Regions from separate parts of the Homo sapiens genome. Here regions 1, 2, 3, 4, 5 and 6 are each linked to region 7. The links are contacts of gene promoters, found by promoter capture Hi-C in blood cells and fetal thymus (Javierre and others, 2016). All regions are on one chromosome and are shown on one strand. Each heading gives the region's core, a stretch centred on a gene start or on the middle of the fragment in contact. The rest is flanking DNA. Distances are from core to core; before and after follow the strand shown.

Evidence for each region. Contacts are between HindIII fragments. The CHiCAGO score rates a contact against its expected background, and 5 or more counts as called.
Region 1: a fragment that was not itself captured here is called in contact with the fragment with the promoter of IL20RB-AS1 in region 7 in 1 of 17 cell types (monocytes); the score reaches 5.1 in monocytes.
Region 2: a fragment that was not itself captured here is called in contact with the fragment with the promoter of IL20RB-AS1 in region 7 in 1 of 17 cell types (fetal thymus); the score reaches 5.4 in fetal thymus.
Region 3: a fragment that was not itself captured here is called in contact with the fragment with the promoter of IL20RB-AS1 in region 7 in 5 of 17 cell types (non-activated CD4 T cells, fetal thymus, naive B cells and 2 more); the score reaches 7.8 in non-activated CD4 T cells.
Region 4: a contact is called between a fragment that was not itself captured here and the fragment with the promoter of IL20RB-AS1 in region 7, in 4 of 17 cell types (neutrophils, naive CD8 T cells, activated CD4 T cells and 1 more). The highest score is 7.8, in neutrophils.
Region 5: a contact is called between a fragment that was not itself captured here and the fragment with the promoter of IL20RB-AS1 in region 7, in 1 of 17 cell types (fetal thymus). The highest score is 8.2, in fetal thymus.
Region 6: a contact is called between a fragment that was not itself captured here and the fragment with the promoter of IL20RB-AS1 in region 7, in 11 of 17 cell types (naive CD8 T cells, naive B cells, non-activated CD4 T cells and 8 more). The highest score is 9.3, in naive CD8 T cells.

What each region holds. Positions count from the first base shown.
Region 1 is chr3:136,257,291-136,260,103 of GRCh38, reverse strand. The region is part of intron 3 of PCCB (propionyl-CoA carboxylase subunit beta); the gene reads right to left. Among named protein-coding and RNA genes, the nearest start is that of PCCB, 8.4 kb to the right of the region's middle. The HindIII fragment of the contact is 486 bases long and covers 1,194-1,679 here.
Region 2 is chr3:136,173,673-136,176,680 of GRCh38, reverse strand. All of the region lies in intron 1 of MSL2 (MSL complex subunit 2), which reads left to right. Among named protein-coding and RNA genes, the nearest start is that of MSL2, 21 kb to the left of the region's middle. The HindIII fragment of the contact is 2,920 bases long and covers 1-2,823 here.
Region 3 is chr3:136,237,706-136,240,622 of GRCh38, reverse strand. No RefSeq gene overlaps it. Among named protein-coding and RNA genes, the nearest start is that of PCCB, 11 kb to the left of the region's middle. The HindIII fragment of the contact is 2,133 bases long and covers 293-2,425 here.
Region 4 is chr3:136,324,052-136,326,877 of GRCh38, reverse strand. PCCB (propionyl-CoA carboxylase subunit beta) reads right to left here. Exons shown (of 15, transcript NM_000532.5): 11 at 1-75. Among named protein-coding and RNA genes, the nearest start is that of PCCB, 75 kb to the right of the region's middle. The HindIII fragment of the contact is 3,211 bases long and covers 1-2,826 here.
Region 5 is chr3:136,199,180-136,202,051 of GRCh38, reverse strand. No RefSeq gene overlaps it. Among named protein-coding and RNA genes, the nearest start is that of MSL2, 4.3 kb to the right of the region's middle. The HindIII fragment of the contact is 6,162 bases long and covers 1-2,872 here.
Region 6 is chr3:136,340,581-136,343,327 of GRCh38, reverse strand. STAG1 (STAG1 cohesin complex component) reads left to right here. Exons shown (of 34, transcript NM_005862.3): 31 at 1,777-1,887; 32 at 2,723-2,747. Among named protein-coding and RNA genes, the nearest start is that of PCCB, 92 kb to the right of the region's middle. The HindIII fragment of the contact is 9,398 bases long and covers 1-2,747 here.
Region 7 is chr3:136,980,734-136,983,548 of GRCh38, reverse strand. It overlaps IL20RB-AS1 (IL20RB antisense RNA 1), which reads left to right and starts at 1,358. Exons shown (of 4, transcript NR_183729.1): 1 at 1,358-1,486. It overlaps IL20RB (interleukin 20 receptor subunit beta), which reads right to left. Exons shown (of 7, transcript NM_144717.4): 3 at 1,199-1,389. The HindIII fragment of the contact is 2,087 bases long and covers 519-2,605 here.

The DNA of each region.
Region 1 (2,813 bases), core at 187-2,686, 720 kb after region 7:
AGACCCTGTCTCAAAACAAAACAAAACAAAACAAAACAAAACAAAAAAAGTTGCCCGGGCATGGTGGCTCGCACCTGTAATCCCAAGACTTTGAGAGGCCAAGGCAGGAGGATCACTTGAGGTCAAGAGTTCCAGACCACCCTGGCCAACATGGTGAAACCCCATCTCTACTAAAATATAAAAATTAGCTGGGCGTGGTGGTGTGTGCCTGTAATCCCAGCTACTCGGGAGGCTGAGGCAGGAGAATCACTTGAATCCAAGAGGCGGAGGCTGCAGTGGGCAGAGATTGCTCCAGTGCACTCCAGCCTGGGCGACAGAGCGAGACTCTGTATTTAAAAAAATACATACATATAGTTTTTAAAGCATTTTCAGAAGTTTAAAAAATTAGAAAAGAAGTCTGATTTATAGATTATTCCATAGAATAAAATATCTTAAAGGAAGTTCATGAATTGTCAAGAGCAAAAGAGCTAGTCTTTGCTCTACAAAAATGATTTGAAAGGAAAAAAAAGAAATGATTTGCAGTTCTGAAGGAAAACCTATCACACAGAATTAACTCTAATATCAGATTCTATGGATATCAAACAGTCAAGCACTTCTGTTTTTAAGAAATATTTACTGTTTTATTTTACTTATCATTTTGAGACCAAGTCTTGCTCTGTCACCCAGGCTGGAGTGCAGTGGCGTAATCTTGGCTCACTGTATCCTCCGCCTCCCAGGTTCAAGTGATTCTCCTGCCTCAGCCTCCCGAGTAGCTGGGATTACAGGCACGTGCCACCAGGCCCAGCTAATTTTTGTATTTTTATTAGAGACAGTTTTGCCATGTTGGCTAGGCCAGTTTCAAACTCCTGGCCTCAAGTGATCTACCCACCTCGGCCTCCCAAAGTGCTGAGATGACAAGCGGGAGCCACTGTGCCCAGCCTATTATTTGCTGTTTTAAAAAGAAAGGTTAAAAAACAAGAATCAGAGCTCTCACTGCTTCTTCTGCTTATGGATCTTCATTATGTTCAGATGTAAAGGGCTTATTGTGGGCATAACCTCTCCTAAAACCCCCTCAAAAAGACAGTTAGGAATTAAGAACAGAATCAGCTGTGAGAATAAGAACAAGGAGACAATAGCATAGGAAGGATTAAACAAATTTGGGGGGAACTGAAAGCACAAGAAAATACCTGATTTAGAGGGAGAGAATGGAAGCTTACACACCTGCAGTGGGGGTAATCAAGGAGAAGACAACCCAGGAACCATGGAAAGTGGAGGTGAGAAGGAGGCTGAAAACAGAGACTAACAGAAGTCTCTGTTAGAAGCAGTCAGACCCCACAGGGCCTCTCCTTCACCTTGAGAGGACAGAGAATGTTTGTTCTCTAAAGGAAATTAACCAGAAGGGTTCTAAACTCACAATCGCTAGCCTAAAAGAGGAAAAGGTGAGGCTGAAAACATGCAAGATTAGGAGCCTATACACTGAATGAGTGCTGGCCCCTTTTTTTCTCTCCCCCTCAGAATACACCAACAGCCAATTATCAGGCAAGGGACTGAGGAGGCTCCCCAGAAGAACAGAAGCTCCCCAGAAAAAGCACCTAAGATATTAACATCTTGGAGATCACTATTAAAAAACACTAGCTCATCACTCCCTACCCTCAGTATCCTTCAGGGCCTGTCTCAATTGCCCCATTGTTCCTAAAGCTTTCCTCAACCCTGGATGTGATTTTCCCTTGTCTTGGGTCTACAGCATTTGCCTGGAACCTCTCACTCCATGTGCTCTGTAGTTACATCCGTTCTGTGCCATTCTGCCTATAAAATGATTCGCTTCTTCAGGGTGGGAACTCTTGTCTCAGTCATCTCCACCTTCTCCTCACTCCCACCCTACCACATGAGCATAAGAGGTGGTCAAAAGTATCAATTCAGTGAATTCTTCCATCTGCTTAATAGTGGTGAGTGAACATCATGTCCAGAAAACATCTTTGTTCTATCTCTCTTTTCAATGGTTCCTTCTGTACAAGTTTTTCTCAGCTCTCATAAATTGCACAAAACAAATGTGATTCCTTCTATTTCGGCATTTGGTAGACCAATTTATAACAGTTTTAAAACATTTCAAAGGTAATTTAATTGGTAAATGCATACTAACTACGACAGATTTTAAATTAACCAAGTATAACTATTTTATTATTTTTTTGTTTGAGATGGAGTCTCACTCTGCCACCCAGGCTCGAGTGCAGTGGCGCAAACTCGGCTCACTGCAACCTCCGCCTCCCAGGTTCAAGCGATTCTCCTGCCTCAGCCTCCCAAGTAGCTGGGATTACAGGCACCCACAACACCCAGCTAATTTTTGTGTTTTTAGTAGAGATGGAGTTTCGCCATGTTGGCCAGCTGGTCTCAAACTCCTGACCTCAGGTGATCCACCCATCTCAGCCTCCCAAAGTACTGGGACTACAGGCATGAGCCACCACGCCTAGCCAATTTTAATATCAAACTTTAGGTCTGTAAAAAGACCTAAGCATTTTAAATTATATACATATTTCCACCTCTGGAGAGAAAAAAGTCAAATCCAAAATAGTACACAACATATTCTGTGTTAGTTTTCTATTACCGCTATAACAAATTAATATAAATTCAGTGCCTTGAAACAACACAAATGTATTATCTTATAGTTCTATAATTTAGAAGCGCTACACAGGATTGACTGGGCTAAAATTAAGGTTGGCAGGACTGTGCTCCCTTCTGGAGGCTCCAGGGGAAAATGTGTTTTCTTGCCTTTACCAGCTCCTAGAGACCATGGGCACTCCTTTGCTGATGGTCCCCTTCTCCCATCTTCAAAGCCA
Region 2 (3,008 bases), core at 114-2,613, 810 kb after region 7:
TTTAAATTTTTTTTTTTTTGTAGTAACAGGGTCTCACTCAGTTGCCCAGGCTGGTCTTAGATTCATGGGCTCAAGTGATTCTCCTGCCTCAGCCTCCCAATGCTGAGATGATAGGCATGAACCACTGTGCCCAGCCGAAAAGTTTTTTTTTTTTTTTTTTTTTTTGAGAGAGGGTCTCATTCTGGTTGCCCAGGCTGGAGTGCAGTGACACGATCTTGGCTCAATACAGCTTCAACCTCCTGGGCTTAGGTGATTGTTCCACCTCACCCTCCCGAGTAGCTGGGATTGCAGGTGCATGCCCCCATGTCCTGCTAATTTTTTGTATTTTTAGTAGAGACGGGGTTTTGCTGTGTTGCCCAGGCTGGTCTTGAACTCCTGGACTCAAGCAATCCACCTGCCGTGGCTTCCCATAGTGCTGGGATTACAGGCATGAGCCACCACACCCAGCCGGCCACTGAAAAGTTTTAAAAGAAGTTTAGACTTTAAAATATGCCTGCACACAACTATATTGGGCAAAGAATATAGTTTTACTTGTCCAAGAACTGTTGATTAATTTGCACCAATTTGGAAATGATAAATACTAACTTTTTATGGTATAGTCGTTTTTGTTTGGCTGAATCCAGAGATTATTTCCTTGTATATGTATCTAGAATATGTCCTACTAGTTATTGTTTGGAAACATACTCGACATCTTTAATTTTGGAGTTTAATTTTGGTGCTATAATTCAGAGATTTAAAAAAGGTTTGAGAATGCCTTGCTAAGTGATGGCAGGCTTAGCACAGTGGCAGGCTTAGCACAGTGTTTGGCATATAGCTGGGTCCCAGGAATTATTTACATATGTAATGGAGGAAGGAGAAATGTTTTATTCAATGAACATAGGCTAAACAATTCACTCTTCATTTGGAAAAGGTGAAAAATGGGGAAATTTAGATAAATTGATTATGAAACGGTTATTGTTCCGGCCCTATCTCAGACTTGTTGTTGTTGTTGTTTTTTGAGATGGGGCCTCTGTCACGCAGGCTAGGGTGCAGTGATCCGATCATGGCTCACTTGCAGCCTCGAACTCCTGGACTCTAATGATCCTCCCACTTCAGCCTCCTTAGTAGCTGGGACCACAGGCATGTGCCACCATGTCTGGCTAATTTTGTTTATTTTTCGTAGAGGCAGGGTTTCACTATGCTGCTTAGGCTGGTCTCGAACTCCTGGGCTTGAGTGATCCTCCTGCCCCAGCCTCCCAAAATGCTGGTATTGTAAGTGTGAGCCACTGCACCTGGCCTATCTCAGACTTTTGACATCAGTGAGAGAAGTGTATTCTCCCACTTTTTTTTTTTTTTTTGAGACGGAGTCTTGCTCTGTCGCCCAGGCTGGAGTGCAGTGGCGCGATCTCGGCTCACTGCAACCTCCGCCTCCTGGGTTGAAGTGATTCTCCTGCCTCAGCCTCCTGAATAGCTGAGATTACAGGTGTGCGCCACCACGTCTGGCTACTTTTTGTATTTTTAGTAGAGATGGGGTTTCACCATGTTGGTCAGGCTGGTATCGAACTCCTGACCTCGTGATCCACCTGCCTCGGCCTCCCAAAGTGCTGGGATTATAGGCGTGAGCCACCATGCCCAGCCATGACTCAAATTCAGCATAGTTACTCTCATACCACAAGAGAAATAGAGTGTACGTGTTTATTTGGGTTGATCAGCATCGGTTTATTGCTATTACATTCCCAGAAAATTTTATAAATGAATGAAAACCAGCTTAGTCTAATCATGAGTTTAGTATATATGTATTTACTTATTTTAAACATATATATTACACATGAATACATTATGCATACACATTTAATATACATATACATATTAAGGTTTCTGATGCTGTAAATTTTAGACTGGTATATAGGCCGATCTTTGTTTTTTGTTGGAATCTCTTTTACACAGAAGATGGTACAAATGCTTTATAGCATATATGTCCACTTGAAGCATTTAAGGCTAACTTTAAAAATTGAAGTTAGTGTGTAGAGAATTTAGGCAGGGCTCTTGCTGGTCCAGTTTTTGTGCAGTAAGGATTTCCTGACCCTCACAAACCTGTTATTGAGAATCCATCCTCCCCTTCCTTTTGCTCTTCCTGCCTCAGTCACTATCCATTATTGCCAGTACCTGTTCCTATTTCTTCTTTCCAATAAAAGGTTGTATATCTTGTGGCTAATTATTCTGCCTATTGCTCAGTTTCTGTAATCATTTTTGGGAAGGGGCAAGAAGCTAAAATTGTCTCTGTGTATGCCATGGACTGTTTTAATAGAAGTACAGATAGTGCTGGATAAGTGAAAATAATTCTAGGCTGGGAATCAGTAGACTGAGCCTCTATTTTTCATTGCTAGTACCCAGTTATGTAATCCATGAAAGTCCATCTTGGTTAAAATGAGGTCACAGAACAAGTGATTACCAAGGTCACTCCCAGATTTAATGTTCTTTTTATGATTAATTCATTTTACATTTATTAGGTGCTGGCTTATGTGCCAACACTAGTTTAAAGATTTAGAGATAAATAAGTTTCTGGCCTTGAGTGAGACCCAGTGAACAATGACAATATAATGTGATTAAGTGCTGTAATAGGAGAATGTGTAAAGTGCTTTTTCAACAGATTGAGGGAGGTTAATTAAGAAAGGCTTCCTCTTGGAGGTCATATTTGAATTGATTTTTGAAGAAGAATTGACCATGCAAGGCAGGAAGAAGGACATTCTAGGAACAGCAAATCATGGAGGATGAGTAAGCATTGCATGTTTTGGAATGGTCAGTGGTGGGTGAGAATGGAGTATGGAGTTCTTGGAGAAAGCTTAGTGAAATGAGATTTGGGGTGGAAGACAGGTAGGTAGGGGCTAGATTCTGGAAGGCCTTATATGTCATTCCAAAGTCTTTGGATTTTAAAGTTCGCTTCAAGGGTTTTCAAGAGAAAGGCATGTAATCAGACTTGTGTTTTAGAAAGATCATATGGTGGCAGTGTGGAAGATGAATTGATTAGG
Region 3 (2,917 bases), core at 110-2,609, 740 kb after region 7:
CTTTTCCTATCCCTCTTCCAGCTGCTTAGAAAATTCTAAGGCAAGAGTCATGGCACTAGATTAAGAAATGTTTGTTTTAATTAGTGGCCTCTCTTCTTCTTTTTCTTTTATAATTCCTCCTGCATTTCTAAAAGACTATATGAGTTATGATACTTTCACAATTATTTTTATTATAATGGGTGATTTTGAGCTTTTGGTATGAATTATGCTGTTCTAAAGCAATTGAGGTTAACATCTAGAAACTGGAAACAAATTAGCTATTCATATATGACTCCCCATGAGATTATAAGCTTATTTTGGATAAGGACTCTATCATTTTTATTTCTGTGTTTCCAGTACCCAGTGGTTCCAGATACATGGGGTATTCAGTCATTGAAAGAACTTTCTCTCTTGCTACTCTAGTTTCTCTGTGAAGAGGGGATTATCTGACGCTCAGCTCCATTACTAGAGCCAGCTTCTTTCCCATGAACCATGGGAAACCTATCTAGTTTCCTACGGGTGGTGTTGACATTTAAGATATACTCACTGGGGAACATCAAAAGTAATAAAGATTGCCACCACACCCAGCCCTTTGCATTCTTTTGACCATGTCTTTTAATACACAAACTTTTAAATAAAATAGGTTTTATCTTCCTACCTGACATATGTATTTTCAAGGCTGGGTGCGGTGGCTCATGCCTGTTATTCCAGCACTTTCGGAGGCAGACGGATCATTTGAGATCAGGTGTTCAAGACCAGCCTAGCCAACACGGTGAAACTCCGTCTCTACTAAAAGTACAAAAATTAACTGGGCATGGTGGTACGCGCCTGTAATCCCAGCTACTCAGAAGGCTGAGGCAGAATGGCTTGAGCTGGGAGGTAGAGATTGCAGTGAGCCAAGATTACGCCACTGCACTCCAACCTGGGAGACAGAGCAAGACTCCGTCTCAAAAAAAAAAAAAAAAGTAATAAAGATCATTACTTTTTATTAGGATATGGTTCTTCCCATCCAACTCGCTCAAAATTTCAACCCTATGATTGATGTAAGTGTGATCCTGAGTGAATGAGAGAAAGAGGGAAGGTTGGGAAGAAGCATTCTTAGACTGCAGTGCAGTCTAAGGAAAGTCAGCAAGAGAACTAAATGAAGCGGTGCCACCACTGTACCTTCTGCAGTTACCCTTAGTTTGTTGTTTTGGAAAGACAGACAGAAGCAGGGGAGGGAAGGAAAAGAAAAAGTGAAAAGAAAAACAATATTGTTTGAAGGCTTAGAAAACAGCTGCAACAACAGAACTTTCCTTATAACCCCTTTTGTATGTAAGAAAGGATTAAGTAAATATTGATGCATTCCTCACTTCCAGAACAATTTATAGGCTAGAAAGGGCGCTGGAGAGGATTGCCCTCATTATGAGCTAGTGAAGGGTTTCTGGTAGGATGGAAAGCATGCTTTGGTGCTGTAAAACTGGATTCCAAATGATACTAACAAGCAGTGTAACTAGGCAAATCAGTTCATCTCTTTCAGCTACAGTTTTTTCACTTATAAAATCATGATAATAATATTGACCCTATAGAATAGTTGGAGGGATTAAATTAAGTGAGAAAACATATGTAGAGTACACGGTATGCAATAGATGTTTAATAAGTAAAAATCCCGGCAGGGCGCAGTGGCTCACGCCTGTAATCCTAGCACTTTGGGAGGCCAAGGCGGGTGGATTGCCTGAGCTCAGGAGTTCGAGACCAGCCTGGGCAATATGGTGAAACCCTATCTCTACTAAAATAAAAATAAAAATAAAAATAAAAAACTAGCTGGGAGTGGTGGCATATGCCTGTAGTCCCAGCTACTCGGGAGGCTGAGGCAGGAGAATTGCTTGAACCCGGGAGGCGGAGGTTGCAGTGGGCTGAGATGGTGCCACTGCACTCCAGCCTGGCAACAGAACAAGACTCCGTCTCAAAAAAAAAAAAAAAAAAGTGATAATCCCACTCTAGTTTGGAAAGAGAATCCAGAATAGATGGGAAAGACAATGTACATGAGAACTGATCCTGGATACCTAAAGAAGAAAATGAATTATTGGAAGGAAGGAATTATCAAGGGGGATAGAAAAGAGTCAAAAAGCAAGATAATCTAGAAGCAGAAAAACACAGCTAAGCTCATGCCACAAGAACAGTGGACATTGACCTAGATACCACTATTGACAGACCTTGCTGTGACTGCTTCTGGATTTGCAAGGCCACTGTGAATAGTTTTCATACTATTGCGTATCTTTGCATAGTGGGCTCCCCCACTTATAATATTGAGTGGGAACATCAAATTGGCAGAGACTGAGTAACATGCTCACACCCCAGCATGAGAAAGATCTTAGAAAAGGACAAATGATCTCTATATTGCTTAAAATAATGCTAGCAACTGTAACAAACCCCAAGGTTTAAGTTACTTAACATAATAGAAGCTTGTTGTTTACCCTGACATTCTAGTGTAGCTATTCTTCCACACGGTGGGCAGCTTTCCCCCTTGCGGTGATTTAAGGACCCAGGCTTCTTCTGTCTTGTGGGTTCATCATCCCTAGATTTGTCTGTATTCAACTGGAGAATGGGGAAGAAGACAAGTGGAAGGGAAGCCCTGTTTATTAAAGACCCCACCTCCACCTGGACGCAAGGGCAAGGATGACAATGTACTCCCTGGCTGGCCAGCCACTTTCCAGTAGCAACTCCACACAGCAGAAGAAGGATTACAAATTTTTAGTTGACAGTTATCTATGTATGCCACACCCTCTACTGGGCCAATGTATATGGGAAAAAGTATGAAGTGGGGCAAGGTACTGAGGATTAAAGGACCCTGGGAAAGTGGAGAACGGTTTTGAGTAGTTGATTTGGGGAATGGGAAAAGAGATAGTACACTGGGAAGTTTAAGTGGAAAATATCAATTCTGGGCCACAGGATTGTC
Region 4 (2,826 bases), core at 38-2,537, 660 kb after region 7:
TGAGTGGAATATTGAATGCATCACAGAATCTGACAAAACGAGCCCCTTTCACAGATGAATTAATATCCAAGCATCCTAGAAAGAGAGAGATTATCCATACTGAGTATCCAGGCAATTCCCAGTTCTATCCACAATGGGGATTTGTCCTCAGCAGCCATCCAAAGCTGGTTTCTGTGGAGGCACCAACACTTCTTTGTTGCAGAATGGTAACAAGGACCCCTCAAACTCCAGGAAACAGGGAAGATGAAGAATCCACCTGTCTGTCACTGGCCAAAGAGGCCCAGAACTAGACTACTACAGACTCACTACAGACCAAAGGGCTGCCGCCAGCTGAGACACAGCCGGCCTTGCCGCAGGGAGCCATCAGTGGGAGGCAGCATTCAAGGGCTGGTCTTAGAGAGTCCTCAGAGCTTCCAATCAGATTCTGGCTCCACTGATGATGGCAACGTGCCCTTGAGAAATTACTTTGCCTTTTGACCTAAGGTTCCTTACCTGCAAAGTAGGGACGATACTGCCTCCTAGCATAGTTCCAAGGAGTAAAGGAAATGGAATCTATAAAGCAGCACAGAGTAGGAGCTCAATTACTAGTAAATCTCCCCTCCTAGAAGAGTTTCCAACTTAATTCTATGAGACCAGTATTACCCCAATACCAAAGCAAGACAAGGACCATCATCAGAAAAGAATACAGACCAAAAACATAAATGAAAAATTTTTACTTTTTAAGTAAGGCACATTATCAAGTCCAGCAATATATACAAAAACAGTAGGCCAGGCGCGGTGGCTCATGACCGTAATCCCAGCACTTTGGGAGGCCGAGGCGGGCAGATCACGAGGTCAAGAGATCGAGACCATCCTGGCTGACAAGGTGAAACCCTGTCTCTACTAAAAATACAAAAATTAGCCGGGTGTGGTGGCGGGTACCTGTAGTCCCAGCTACTTGGGAGGCTGAGGCAGGAGAATGGTGTGAACCCGGGAGGCGGAGCTTGCAGTGAGCTGAAATCATGCCACTGCACTCCAGCCCGGGTGACAGAGCAACACTCCATCTCAAAAAAACAGTAATACATCATGTCCAAGTGGGGTTTATCCCAAGAATTCAAGGTTGATTTCAGCATGTGAAAACTAATGAAATTATTAAATAAAGGAAAAAAACTATATGAACATCTCAATAGATGTAGAGAAAATACCTGAAAAAATTTAATATCCATTCATGAATAAAAACATGGCCCGGCACAGTGGCTCACACCTGTAATCCCAGCACTTTGGGAGGTCGGGCAGGCAGACCACTTGAGGTCAGGAGTTCAAGACCAGCCTGGCCAACATGGTGAAACCTCATCTCTACTAAAAAATACAAAAATTAGCCAGGCGTGGTTGCAGGCACCTGTACTCCCAGCTACTCAGAAGGCTTGAGGAAGGAGAATCACTTGAACCCAGGAGGCAGAGGTTGCAGTGAGCCAAGATTGCACCACCACTCTAGGCAACAGAGTGAGACTCCATCTCAAATAAAAAAAAAAGGAAAGGAAAGGAAATAAATAGGCAAGTCACAAGCCAGGCCCTAGAAATCAACAATAAAAAGACAATGTAGTCCCAGCTACTCAGGAGGCCAAAGTGGAGGACTGCTTAAGCCCAGGAGTTTGAGACCTGCCTGGGCAACATAGTGACACTCTGTCTCTAAAAGAACAAAAAAAAATGGCCAGATGTGGTGGCTCACACCTGTAATCCCATCATTTTGGGAGGCCAAGGTGGGCGGATCACCTGAGGTCAGGAGTTCAAGACCAGCCTGGCCAAAATGGCAAAACCCTGTCTCTACTAAAAATACAAAAATTAGCCGAGCGTGGTGCACACCTGTAATCCCATCTACCTCAGAGGCTGAGGCAGGAGAATTGCTTGAACCTGGGAGAAGGAGGTTGCAGTGAGCCAAGATCATGCCACTGCACTCCAGACTAGGTGACAGAGTGAGACTCTGTCTCAAAAAAATAAAAGAAAATGGTATGAAAGCTCTGTGCCTTTTTAATTACACTTGTCCCATTTCCTCCCTGGTTCTGGAGGAAGCAGAGCAGACCTCATTCACAAATTTCCGCATATGTCTGCTCTAACCTGTCTGTGGGCTGCCTGAAGGACTGACACAAGGAACACATCTCTGTTTCACCTAACTCAGAACTTATCCAGGCTGGAAATGTAGCAGGCATTTCTTTAAATCATGGTAAGGTAGAGGAACAACCTGCAGATGTCTGGGCAAAAGATTACTGTTGAAACCACCTAAGATATGGGAGAAAAAAAAAACAGAGAGTGTCTTTAGGAAATTAGTGCATTCAAAAGCACCCGTGAATAGGGAGAATTCAGAAAGACACATGTATGCCTAGGATGAGATACACGATCAGAAAAGATCTGAGAGGGGAAATAAGAAAAGAAGTTGAATGAAAATGAAAACACTATTACAAAATAAAAGACCAGAGAAAACCTTAAACTTTAACCTTGAGCTGATCTCAAACCTTAGTTCAAGTTTGGCTAAGCATCAAAGGAGAGCCCCAACACAGAGACAATTTCAAGACCAGGAGTTTTCTTGTTTGTTGTTTCTTGGTTTTAGTTCCTGGTGTTCAAGAAAATTTCTGTCAAATATACAAGTTAAGAAACAGGCTGGGCATGGTGGCTCACACCTGTAATCCTAACACTGTGGGAGGCTACTTTGGGAGAATCTCTTAAGGACAGGAGTTCAAGACCAGCCCAGGCAACAGAGCAAGACCCTGTCTCAAAAGAAAGAAAGAAACAATAAGAAGAAACAGGGACTTCAGTGACCACAAATGACAAAAAATATAGTCTCTGGAAAAG
Region 5 (2,872 bases), core at 306-2,805, 780 kb after region 7:
TACAGAAAACCAAACACTGCATGTTCTCACTTATAAGTGGGAGCTGAACAATGAGAACACATGGACACAGGGAGGGGAACAACACACACTGGATGGAGCCTGTCGGGGATGGGGGGGTGGGGAAAGGGAGAGTATTAGGAAAAAATAGCTAATGTATGCTGGGCTTAAGACCTAGGTGATGGGTTGATAGGTGCAGCAAACCACCATGGCACACGTTTACCTACGTAACAAACCTGCAGATCCTGCACATGTACCCCAGAACTAAACATAAAAGAATAAAAATAAAAAGAAATTTGAGTTATAGGCCAGGCACTGTGGCTCATGCCTGTAATCCCAGCACTGTGGGGGGCTGAGGCTGGAGTCAGATCCCTTTAGCTTAGGCCACATGGTTAGACTCCCGTCTCTACAAAAAATACAAAAAAAAAAAAAAAATTAGCCGGGCATGGTGGTATGTGCCTGTAGTTCCGGCTACTCAGGAGGCTGAAGTGGGAGGATTGCTTGAGCCCAGGAGGCTGAGGACACAGTAAGCACTGCACTCCAGCCTAGGTGAGACTATCTCAAAAAAAAAAAAAAGGAATTTGAGTTATATATGATTTTTCCTAAATAATTAAAGCACTTTTAATGTTTTTTTTTTAAAAAGAATCAAACTGCATTTATTTCAGAGGTTTTTTATTTAGGAAAAATATACATATATAATTTACCACCTTTACCATTGTTTTCAACTTTTTATTTATTTATTTTTTGAGAGGGAGTCTGGCTGTGTAGCCTAGGCTGGAGTAGCTGGGATCACAGGAATGTGTCATCACACCTGGCTAATTTTTTTTTTCTTTTTTTTGAGACGGAGTCTCACTCTGTCGCCCAGGCTGGAGTGCAGTGGGGCAATCTCTGCTTACTGCAAGCTCTGCCTCCTGGGTTCACGCCATTCTCCTGCCTCAGTCTCCCGAGTAGCTGGGACTACAGGCACCCGCCACCGTGCTGGGCTAATTTTTTGTATTTTTAGTAGAGATGGGGTTTCACCGTGGTCTTGATCTCCTGACCTTGTGATCCACCTGCCTCGTCCCCCCAAAGTGCTGGGATTACAGGCGTGAGCCACTGCGCCTGGCCACACCTGGCTAATTTTTGTATTTTTAGTAGAGACGGAGTTTCACTATGTTGGCCAGGTTGGAGTGCAGTGTTGCAATCTCGGCTCACTGCAACCTCTGCCTCTTGGGTTCAAGTGATTCTCCTGCCTCAGCCTCCCCAGTAGCTGGGACTGCAGGCATGCGCCATCATGCCTTGCTAATTTTTTGTATTACTATTAGAGATGGGGTTTCGCCATGTTGGCCAGGCTGGTTTTGAACTCCTGACCTCGAATGATTCCCCCGCCTCTGCCTCCCAAAGTGCTGGGATTCCCCTGCCTCTGCCTCCCAAATTTCTGGGATTACAGGTGTGAGCCACCGTGCCCAACCCTGGTAGGTTTGGACTTTCACCCTCCTGTCATCCTTCCCCAGAAAGTAGGCTCTAGTGTCTACTGTTCCCATCTTTATGTCCATGTGTACTCAATGTTTAGCTCCCACTTATAAATGAGAACATGCAGCATTTGGTTTTCTGTTCCTGTGTTAATTCAGATAATGGCCTCCAGTTGCATCCATGTTGCTGCAAAGGACATTTTTTTTTTTTGAGACAGAGTTTCCCTCTTGTTGCCCAGGCTGGAGTGCAATGGTGTGATCTTGGCTCACTGCAACCTCCACCTCTCATGTTCAAGCAATTGTCCTCCCTCAGCCTCCCGAGTAGCTGGGATTACAGGCATGCACCACTGCGTCCAGCTAATTTTGTATTTTTATTTATTTTTATTATTTATTTATTTATTTATTATTATTATTATTATTTTTGAGATGGAGTTTAGCTCTTGTTGCCCAGGCTGGAGTGCAATGGCATGATCTCGGCTCACCGCAACCTCTGCCTCCCAAGTTCAAGCGATTCTCCTGCCTCAGCCTCCCGAGTAGCTGGGATTACAGGCATGCACCACCATGCCCGGCTAATTTTGTATTTTTAGTAGAGACGGGGTTTCTCCATGTTGGTCAGGCTGGTCAAACTCCCGATCTCAGGTAATCCGCCCACCTCGGCCTCCCAAAGTGCTGGGATTATAAGTGTGAGACACGGCGCCCGGCCAATTTTGTATTTTTAGTAGAGACGGGGTTTCTCCATGTTGGTCAGGCTGGTCTCGAACTCCCAACCTCAGGTGATCCGCCCACCTCAGCCTCCCAAAGTGCTGGGATTACAGGTGTGAGCCACAGTGCCCGGCCAGGACATAATTTTTTTATGGCTGTATAGTATTCCATGGTGTATATGTACCACATTTTCTTTATTCAGCCCATTGTCAGTGGGCATTTAGTTTGATTCCATTTCTTTGCTATGTAAATAGTGCTGTGATGAGCAAATGAGTGCATGTCTTTTTGGTAGAACGATTTATATTCCTTTGGGTATATACCCAGTAATGAGATTGCTGGGTCAAATGGTAGTTCTAAGTTCTTTGAGAATTCTCCAAACTGCTTTCCACAGTGGCTGAACTAATTTACAGTGCTACCAGCAGTGTATAAACATTCCCTTGTCTCTGGAACATCCCCAACATCTGTTATTTTTTGACTTAATAACTGCCATTCTGACTGTGTGGTGAGATGGTATATCACTGTGGTTTGGATTTGGATTTCTCTGATGATTAGTGATGTTGAGCATTTTTTTCTTTTTTCTTTTCTTTCTTTTTTTTTTTTGAGACAGATTCTTGCTCTGTCACCAGGCTGGAGTGCAGCGGTGCGATCTCGGCTCACTGAAACCTCCGCCTCTGGGGTTCAAGCGATTCTCCTGCTTCAGCCTCCCGAGTAGCTGAAGGCAC
Region 6 (2,747 bases), core at 248-2,747, 640 kb after region 7:
AAATCAAGGTCTTACCTTTCCTCCATGCTAGTAATTAAAATGTTTTCTAGTACACAGACCTCTGAAAATTGTAGAGAAGGCAGAGGGTGATGGCGTGTTTTGCTTATAAAAATCTTATTGTTGTTTTCCATCCAACTTTGAAATTCTTTGAGCTCCTCACTTGTGTTTCTGTGTATAGTTGGGTAATGCTGTGAATTACTCTGATGGATAAGAGGGAGAACTCTCATTTGAACTCAACAAATTTAGTTAGGTTGAAAATAGAGACAGTGTTAGAAGTATCAAATCCTGGGTTTTCATGATCCCTTTGCTCTAAGGGATCAGCCTTCAAACCCAAGAGGATACTCACTGTCACCCATGGTATAACTGGGCATTCTTGTGCTGCCAAGTATCCTAGAAGGTGGTTTGCCTTATGGCAAGCATCCGAAGATGGGTGACCTAACCAATATCCCCACCCCTCTTCCTACAGGGTGGGTTTCTCCTTGTTTTAGCAGCCTGCCTTGCCCCTCTGACCCTACCATTTGTCATTCCCTGTGGCCATGGTCTGCCTTCTTTTCCCTGCTCCAGGTTTATAGGTTTAATCAAGGTGGTGGCCCCACATGATATAAAGACAGCTACTTAGAGACAACTTCATGTGACAGTTTGTATTGGCTAAAAAACCACTAAAGTTTACATCCTATAAATGTATGGGTATGGTGGCACACGCCTGTGATCCCAACTATTCAGGAGGCTAAGGAATGAGAATTGCTTGAACTCGGGAGGCAGAGGTTGCAGTGAGCCAAAATCGCGCCACTGCACTCCAGCCTGGGTGACACAGACTCTGTCTCAACACCACCACCACAAAATTAGCCAGGTGTGGTGGCGCATGCCTGTGATCCCAGCTACTCGGAAGGCTGAGGTGAGAGCAGCACTGGAGCCTGGGAGGCAGAGGTTGTAGTGAGCTGAGATCATGCCACTGCACTCCAGCCTGGGTGACAAGAGTGAGAACCTGTCTTAAAAAAAAAAAATTCCTGGCTGGGCGCGGTGGCTCATGCCTGTAATCCCAGCACTTTGGGAGGCCGAGGCAAGTGGATCACAAGGTCAGGAGATCGAGACCATCCTAACTAACATGGTGAAACCCCATGTCTACTAAAAATACAAAAAATTAGCTGGGTGTGGTGGTGCACGCCTGTAGTCCCAGCTACTCGGGAGGCTGAGACAGAAGAATCCCTTGAACCAGGGAGGCGGAGGTTGCAGTGAGCCAAGATTGTGCCACTGCACTCCAGCCTGGATGACAGAGCAAGACTCCATCTCAAAAAAAAAAAAAAATTCCTTAGAGGCATGTTTACACACACTTCCATGTGCCAATAAGTTTAGAGTACAAGTGCAGATTTGACTCCATAAAGACTGAGGAAAAGATGCTATATTCTTCCTTGTTGAATTCTGGAGAACTTTCAGCTGCCAAGCCAACATAATTTCTGTTAGTTGGGGATCTGCTGTCCAGCTAGGTACACCTGTGAGTGCGGCACCAGCCCAAAACAGAGGTCTGAGAACCCTTGTTTGGCAGAGATTTGGTTGATAGTTTAAGCATCTAACAATTAGCCTCAGCCAGCTTCTCTTGGAGACTTACAGATATCTTTGGGCAACTTATTGCCTTTTTTATAAAAAGGCACCAGAATAAATCCAGCTAATTCCTCCAACATGGGATTAAGTAAACCTACCTTGGCTTTCTTAGCTTGGGGCTCATTAGCTAAATTCATCATCTGCTGCTACAAAATTAATAATAGTACCCTCTCTTAGTCCTCAGATGCAGATCTCTTGGTTAGGCCAGCCGAAGTTAGAAGACTTAAATCGGAAGGACAGAACAGGAATGAACTACATGAAAGTGAGAACTGGAGTGAGGCATGCTGTGTAAGTGTTACATGGAGTATCACAAGAACATAACAACTATGTGATGCCCATCATTTTGTGAAATGACTTGGGTTTCTTTGATGTTTGGTCTTAGGAGTTAAAATTATAATTCGTGATATGCTATGCAGCATAGGAAAGGAGGGTGTGAGTTCTTAACACTTTCAGCATTTAAATCCTAGCTCTGCCACTTGGCAGCTGCATGGCCTTGGACAAGCTCTAAAACATCTGTGCTGGCTAGGCGCGGTGGCTCCGCCTGTAATCCCAGCACTTTGGGAGGCCGAGGCGGGCGGATCACTTGAGGTCAGGAGTTCAAGACCAGCCTGGCCAACATCGTGAAACCCCGTCTCTACTAAAAATACAAAAAATTAGCCGGGCATGGTGGTGGGCGCCTATAATCCCAGCTACTCAGGAGGGTGAGGCAGGAGAATCGCTTAAATCCAGGAGGCGGAGGTTGTAGTGAGTCAAGATCACGCCACTGCACTCCAGCCTGAGCGACAGAGCAAGACGCCGTCTCAAAAAAATCTGTGCTTCAGGTTCCTCATTTGTAAAATTGGGATAATACTACCAATAAGATTTTTAGGGTAATTGACACATAAATAAATGTTAACAACCGTTATTATTGAATTGTACTTCCTTTTGATATGTGAGATGAAATCTTGAATGAACCAAAGGAATGATTCTTAATTGTCTTGGAATTCAGTCTAATTTGTGTAGTCTGTAGGTCATGATTAGAAGGTATACTTCACTTGGTTAGAATAACTTTAATCTGAGAAACAGCCAGGACTCCAAATGGTGGAGTCTGATGAGCTTTCTGACAATACCTTTTTCTTACCAGTCGGGGTCTAATGGAGGAAGATGCT
Region 7 (2,815 bases), core at 109-2,608:
TCTTGGATTCATCATCTCCTTCCCATCCCCTTCCAAACTCTTGGGATCAGTAGGAGTATTACAACCCCCTCCTCACTCTTCCCCTGTCCTGCAGGCTTGCCCTACTCTGGTTCACTTTCCACACAGCAGCCAGAGTGTTGCTTTGTAAGATAGACCTGGTCGGCCGGGCGCCATGGCTCATGCCTGTAATCCCAGCACTTTGGGAGGCCGAAGTGGGCAGATGACTTGAGGTCAGGAGTTCCAGACCAGCCTGGAAAACATAGTGAAACCCTGTCTCTACTAAAAATACAAAAATTAGCCAGGCATGGTGGTGCACGCCTGTAGTCCCAGCTACTCAGGAGGCTGAGGCAGGAGAATCACTTGAACCCAGGAGACAGAGGTTGCAGTGAGCTGAGATCACGCCACTGCACACCAACCTGGGTGACAGAGTGAGACTCCGTATCAAAAAAAAAAAGAGATAGACCTGGTCTAGATCCTCTCCTCTTTCATTGGCTACCCTCTACTGACTTGGTCAAGCTTCGTGTCAAAGCCCTTCACCACATGATCAACTGCTTCCCTACCCCCTGCCCATCAGCCCTTGCCTCTCCTGTTCCGCAAACACACATGTCCTTTTATACAATGACCAGTGCTTGTACTCAGCCACATTTGGCCACCTATCTGGATTCCTCTATTACTTCTTTCTCAATCCTTTTCCAGGTACTACTCCAAAAGAAAAGTTATTTATTTCCCACAGAAGTCATTACAGAAGGGCAATTTTCTGGTGGCTCTGTTAAGTGTATAAATCCTCTTGCACAACAAAGCTGCTTACGTGGGCAGTAAATATGCAGTTAATGAGGCCTCAAGTGGGAGGCACAATTTATGGAGGCACAATCAGAGTAGGGAGCAGCAGTCCTGGTGCCACCTCTTCACTTCCAGAGCAGCTTTCCTTCCAGGTTCCCAATGTCAGCATCCCCAACACCTGCACACCCTGACACAGACAGTCAGGAATGACTTGAGTAGTCAAAGGGCATGACAGAGAGCAGCATGTAGAAAGCAGTTGGCAATTTTTCAAATATACCAGTAAGGGTTGTTTGTGTTCACAATACTCTGGCTTTGCAGGACTATTCTGATGCTAAAAAGAGTCTAGAAAGTTTAGGTGAACATGGTTCCTAAAGGAGGGGCTGGTTGGGGTGGGAGTGTAAGGAGAGAAGTGCCTTACTTGAGTTTCTATTAAAGGGATGCTTCAGGATGCTCCAGGCTGAGGTCTGTGAGCCCAATGTGGCCCTGACACGAAGGTTGTATGGCACAGTGGCCGTGATGTCATCAGTGACATCACACTCAGGACCTTCAGTGAGTGAGCACCAGCTGCTGGGGATCCAGATGTGGCTCGTGTACAGGCTCTCGTACTCCCTGTCAAAGAGAGGAGGGCACAGAGTTACACCAGCCCCTCTGACACAGGCTCAGTTATGGTTGCAAGTAACTGACTTCGTTCACCTACTTTGTACAGGTAAGTAAAATAAGTACTTTCTCATTATCCTAGCTCCTCCACTCTCCTCCCTACCAACCATCCATCGTCCCTTACTCCTTTTATTGCCAGATAGGGAAAGCTAGGCATAAACATCAATGTGTCTGGATCTCTTTTATCTCTTCATCTCCAGGGTCATCACCCTAATCTCAGCCACTGTCATTCCTTGCCTTGCTGTGATCTCCCAGCTTGGACACCTGCCATTCTCAAAACCATTCACCACTCAGCAGATTGTGACGTTTCTCTCCTTAATGGCTTCCTACAGGACTTAGAATGGGATCCAAACTCTTGCCAGTGGTCTTACAAGATGCTTTGGCCTTCTCTCTCACTCTGCTCCGAAGCGTGATATTCTTGCCACATTGGTCATTTCTCCAAAATGCTGAGCACTTTTTGCCTTAGGACCTTTGACTAACTGTTCACTCCATCTCAAACGCTCTGCCCCTGCTGTTCGCATGGCTGGCTCCTCTTGTCCTTCAGATATGGCATAAATATCACCTCCTCAGAGAGGCCATCCCAGGCCATCTAATATAAAGGAGCCTCAGTGTCAACTCTCTATGGCATCAGCCTTTTAGCTTCCTCCTAGCACTGATTACTATCCAAAATTCCCTAGAGCAGTGCTTTCCAAAAATAAACTTTCTGTGATGATGCAAATATTCTAAATCGATGTTGTTCAATATGGTAACCACTGGCCACATGTGGCTATTGAACACCTAAAATGTGACTAGTGTGGCAGGAAACAGACATTTTAATTTAATTTAATTTAATTTAATTTAATTTAAATTTAAATAGCCAGCTGTGGCTGGTGGCTACCATACTAGAGAATGCTGGCCTAGTATATTTATCATCTGTATCCTCCTCTAGATGTAAGCTCTCAAAATCCAGAAACCTTGTCAACTGTATCCCTGAGCCTAGAAGAATGTCTACACATGTAGGTGTTCAGTCTGTATTCATTGTTAATGAAATATATGGAGCAATTTCTGTGTCCTTATCACTATTCAATAGCTGCAAGCACCTGAACACCTGGAGAAGACTAGAGCCTGCTCAGCCCCAGGGCCAGCTGACCTTTAGGATTATAGTTCGTTTTGGCTCTAGGTATAAGCTTATAGTCAGGAAAAGTGAGGACTCCTCCACCCTTAAAGGATCTGAGTCTCCAGTGATTTATCCATCTCAAGTCAGAGTCAAACCCATTGGACAGTTGATTCACTTTTTAAAATAACTCCACCAAAATGTGTTATGCACATTCATCTTCCCAGAGAGTTCACTGTCAAATCCACAGAACAATTTCCCTTGCTTCTTCAACTCTTTCAATGC